Regions from separate parts of the Homo sapiens genome. Here region 1 is linked to region 2. The links are contacts of gene promoters, found by promoter capture Hi-C in human tissues and cell types (Jung and others, 2019). All regions are on one chromosome and are shown on one strand. The core of a region is centred on a gene start or on the middle of the fragment in contact, and the rest is flanking DNA. Distances in the headings are between cores, read along the strand shown.

Region 1 (2,700 bases), core at 52-2,551, 550 kb before region 2:
TCAAGCCTTTTTGATATGAGAGAAGACAGCACACTAATTGCCTAACTGCCTAGTTAAGTTTTGGTGGATTACAAGTCTCTCAGGCTAATTAAAGAATCAGGCAGTACTGAATCACTTAAGTTTTGTGGAGCTTAGCTTTTTTTTTTTTTTTTTTTTTTTTTTTTTAAAGAAAGTAAGGCCTGCCTTAAAGTCTTTGTAAATAGAATTGAATTAATAAAAACTAACATAATATAATGGCTTTATGGAAAATACCTCTGCCCTTATTTCTTCTTAGCCTTAAGATGATAATTAAATATAGGTAGTGTTGTCCTGTAAATAAGGCAACTTCTCTGAAAATATTTGTGCATTAATAATCTCTAGTAGAATTTCTAAATAGCAGCATGTAAGTTAATCAGCTCCAAGCAATTTCTTTGCAATTTTCGGTTTTGGTTACACATATATTGCAAAGATCACAAATGTGTAATTTGTTAAAAAAAAAAACCAACAACCTCTATTTTACATTCAGATCATAAAAGGAAGTGTTTCTAATACAGGCTGCAAACATTTTTATTTAGGCTTTGCAAAGCATTAGTTTATGGGCTTTTAGAGTCATTCCAAAAAGCACAATGAAGTGTATACACCAAAGGTTTACCAAGAAATTTAAGTGGGGCACTGAGGGGCAACATTCTATCCAAGGCTTACATCATTGTTGATGGTCAAATGTAATCAAAAGACAAAACCAATTAGAAGTCCGCTGTTCCACTTTAATTCATTTTTATTTTTCCTGGAAAAATCACAAGTAACTGAAAATGCCAGTTAAAAAAGTGTATACAACAGTTAATATAGTCCAGCTCTTGTGTTTATTCTATCTAGAAAAAACCACCCAAATAATTCTTATTTCTTAGGAATTCAATATGTAATTATTCCCTTAATGGATACATTTAAAATTTTTATTTTAAATGTTAGAGGCTTATATTAAGGAACAACATTTTGAATTAATGGAATGCTAGAGCTGCCCCAGTGAAAGCTAAGTAACTTGACAGAACTCTGCTGATGTTAAGAGGATCCAACCATGGACAGCAGTCTCCCATGTCCTTGGAATGACCTCAGACATGACAGCAGTCAAAGGCTTCACCTTTCAACTTCTTACTTGGAGACTGCTCACAGATAAAGATTCAGATAATCTTTATAATTCTGAACCATCTCCAACAGAAACAGTATGTTTGATTCATAGATATACACACATATATGTATACACATATATATTTATATATAATATGTATACATATGTGTATATAAAATCAAATCATATATATATGAAAAAATGGTGGGCATATAAGAGAAACAAACTCTATGAAGTGATCTTATATTTGATCAAGGCATGATGAAGAAATTATATTTCATCACGTTTGAAGTTTAGAATCACTTCCTCCTCATACTCACCCCTCAAATAAACAGTAAAGTCACCCTCATCATCCTTTTTTCTCCAGTGAGCAGTTTCAAGTGTTTCCCATCTCTCACTGGGAAGAGCTTGAGGAAATGGTGACTATGAAAGCTTGTTTTATATGGGCTGCCTTCCAGTTACCAAAACACTTTTTATTTGTGAAAATAAAAATGACTTTATCCCACACTCTTCTTGACTGTGTATGTAAACTCTATTATCTTCTCTGGCAAGGATGCAATCCTTTTTATGGAAATGGAGACAGCTTTCTTCTTATTTAGATAAGAACCATTTTTGTTTCTGAAAGCATCTTTCTTGTATTGTGACAGGCACAGTATACCTTTGAGTTGTTCCACTAACATTAAGCAAATATGAGGGTTATGGTTTGAGAATGTAAGCTTTGAAAAAGGACAAAGAGCTTCATTAACATACTCTTAGTCAAGAGCAACACTTCGTACTAAAAAATGGACCATTTTGTCTATTTTTGTACAGAAAAATAGAGAAAAATAGATTGTGTTCAGGATTGCATGGAAGGCATTTATTCAGGTGCTGGGAGTTGATCTAAACAACAACTAACGTGCCCTTTAAGCCTAAGATTCAAGTCTAAACTCAGAGAAACAAAACTTAGCTATTTGATGATAGCATGGAAAAATTATTATTATTATTATTTGTGAGACGGAGTCTTACTCTGTTGCCCAGGCTGGAGTGCAGTGGTGCGATCTTGGCTCACTGCAACCTCCACCTCTTGGGTTCAAGTGATTCTCCTGCCTCAGCCTCCCCAGTAGCTGGGACCACAGGCGTGTGCCACCACATCTGGCTAATTTTTTGTATTTCTAGTAGAGACAGGGTTTCACCATGTTGACCAGGCTGGTCTCAAACTCCTGACCTCAGGTGATCCACCTGCCTCGGCCTCCCAAAGTGCTGGGACTACAGGCGTGAGCCACCATGCCCGGCCACATTTTAAAAATCTAGATATTAAAATTTTATATCAACTATTCCTATAACCATATAAGAAAATGTCTCCTTAGCTTAAACCTATTCACAGGGGAAAAAAACCCCCAGAAATAAACATACTAATATTTAATATCTGTGGCTGGGCTTGGATGGTATAGTTTTTTCCCCAATAAGTAAGTGAGAAAGTGTATTTTATTCCAATGTCAAAGGTCACATAACTTACAATAAAAGTTTGACTTGGGTTGAGAAACAAAAACTCAAATTTCATATTGTTCCATGGCCTTTTGCTATTCATCTGCAATGACATCCTGAAGCATGATAATATT
Region 2 (2,700 bases), core at 84-2,583:
TAATATCCCACTGGTCAAAGCTAGTCAAATGGCCAAGCCTAGAGTCAGCGTGGGAGAAGGCCACACAAGGGTTTGAATTCTGAGGACGAGTCTCTTTCATTGAAGGCCAAAGAAACAGTCTACCTCAGAGGGTTGCTGGGGAGCTATAATGCAAAGAATAAACCTCACCCTGCCTTCAAGGCGCTCACAGAGAAGAAATCTTTTGAATATTAGTGAAGTTTTCCTGGACATCCCAATGGATAGATGTGAGGGACAGTCACGTACTCAGGACATCTGTTTGCTTATGGTGTTATGTTACAGATGTCACAAATGAAAATCAGAGACATGTAGCCCTGAGCCCAGTAACTATAAAGCGGTCTAGCTGAAGCTGGAGCCCACAAGAGGGCACTTTGCACCATGATGCACGCTTGTTTCTTGCCATCAGCTCTGCAATGAGTTCAAGCTAATGCCATGTCCCAGCCGTCCAGTTGTTTTATGACTTGTGTGATTGAAGCATATGGTGGCTTGTGGCATGTTCTTAGGCAAACCACTCACCTCCCTAGGTTTCGTTTTCCTAATTTCTCAAACAAGGGAGTTAGATTAGGTGGTCTATAGTTCCTTCCAATTGTGATATTTCACTATATAACAATATAGTTATAATAGATCATAGCACATCTGTAATGAAAAAAAGTGAGTTCATTTCTTAACAAGTACATTTACTTAACTAGTTGGAGTCATTAAAGCAAATTAAGAACGAAATTCTTAGTTAATCTGAACTTTTCTGGGCATACTGATCTGTTCCCTAACGCGTCTGACCGTGGAAAAGTGGATCAGCAGGAGTGGGACTGGCTCTCAGCTTTGCCATGTTTGGCTCTTTCTCTGCTGTGAAACTCAGTTTCTTCCTGGATCAAGAGGTTAATTTCTGCCGGTGTTATTTTACAGTGTTGCAAAGAGATAAAAGCCAGACGAAAGAAGGGAAAGTACTTCAGCTTTGATTAGGGATTTTTTTTTCTGTCCCTGTGACCATACACTACTCAATTCTGACAGCTTCGCATGAGTCTAGCAGAAAATTGAGGGATTCACTGTTATTCCTTAACTTGCAGAGGTCCAGACCCGCCCACATCAAATGGTGAGGTCCCCACTTTCAACTTTAGCTGTTGCTAAATCTGTGACCCTTTCAATGAAATCCAAGGATCTCAGCTTAAAAAAAGTTAAAATAAAATAAAAACTAGGTGTTTTTCAGAGGCGGTTTGAAACGCCTCTCTGAGGTTGTCAGAGATTGTTTTTGTTTTCTCCCTTTGCCCTTCTTGGAATGCACCAAACATAAAAGCATTTTTTTTCAAGCTTTACTTTCACTTTCGAGAGTGCCGTCTATTTGCCACACACTTCCCTGATGAAATGTCTGGATTTGGACTAAAGAAAAAAGGAAAGGCTAGCAGTCATCCAAGTAAGTGAAGGTGTTCATTTCACGTTCTTACTGGGCAGGGTCTCTCTTGCTGAGTAGAGTTTGCTAGCAGAATGCATGTGGTTTTAGCCTTCTTTGGTCTTTCTTTGATCTGGTGCTTGAAATCTAGTCAGAATTATTCAGGAAGGAAAGTGGAAGAAAAGGGATATGATATGGGCATGGGAGAAGGGTATAACTCAGAACACAAGTAATAGCACCAATATCTAGTTAATGTGATAATGTATTTATGCAGTATTTAATTTTTTTCTCTGTAGCATTCTGTACCTGGAAAAAACACATTAGGGAAGCTATGGAAATCATTTTGCAACAGTCTTTTTAGCAAATCACATCTTTGCCTTAAAGAAACAAAACTCCAAGAGGTTAAAAGAGCGTATCCCCTTTTGTTAGTTTTATTGGCTGGAGGGGAGACAGGAGCTGGCATTGTATGACAATGTCTTAGATAGGAGAGAACATTCAGGTATGCCTAGGAGTAAGTAAATGGCTTTCTTTCACCTAATGAAGGATAATGGAAGAAGTGGAGAAGTGGAAAGTTGTTAAGGTGTATGGGAAGATCAGAAACTGGTATCGGCAATTGTGGGGTACTCGGGTAAAAATGGAGTTGGCTTCAGCAAGTTGATTCCCAGGTTTACAGATGATTACGTGCTGGTATGTGTCTTCATATGGGCGTGCCTGTGTATGAACCTACTACAAAGGTTGCAAAGTTTACAAATCAAACTATGGATAGTGGTTAACTCCAGGTAGTCTGCCTCCAGACCCCATGTCCTAACCATCAGGCAATATTGTCTCTCACTTGGACAAAGAATGTGAATTCCATGTGCCCTCACAAAATATTTCCAAAATTCTAAGGCTGAGTGAGTCTCTTTTTAATTTTTTTTCATTTTCTTTATTTCTGCTAGATCTCATTCAACAGCAACGTTTTCTTCACTCTCATTTCATCCTTTAACTGCATTTTTGCTTGTTTTACTGAAGCATGTCCTAGAATAACCTTTTCATACAGATCGTATGGCTATAAACTTACTGAATTTTTGCATATCTCAAAATACTTATACCTTTTTATTTAGTTATTCAGATGGATGTGAAATTTCCCTATCTTATTTTATTTTATTTTATTTCATTTTATTTCATTTATCGATTTAGAGACAAGGTCTCGCTGTGTTGCCCAGGCTGAAGTACAGTGGCATGATCGTGGCTCACTGCAGCCTTGACCTCCCTGGCTCAAGCAATTCTCACACCTCAGTGTCACGAGTAGCTGGGAC

What was found. Contacts are between HindIII fragments. The study calls those that stand out against the background at their distance.
Region 1: a contact is called between a fragment that was not itself captured here and the fragment with the promoter of TLR3 in region 2, in 2 of the 25 tissues and cell types used here (H1 embryonic stem cells and heart left ventricle).

Annotation. Positions count from the first base shown.
Region 1 is chr4:185,517,212-185,519,911 of GRCh38, forward strand. The region is part of intron 3 of PDLIM3 (PDZ and LIM domain 3); the gene reads right to left. Among named protein-coding and RNA genes, the nearest start is that of PDLIM3, 17 kb to the right of the region's middle. The HindIII fragment of the contact is 4,125 bases long and covers 1-2,700 here.
Region 2 is chr4:186,067,823-186,070,522 of GRCh38, forward strand. TLR3 (toll like receptor 3) reads left to right here and starts at 1,334. Exons shown (of 5, transcript NM_003265.3): 1 at 1,334-1,426. The HindIII fragment of the contact is 6,210 bases long and covers 1-2,700 here.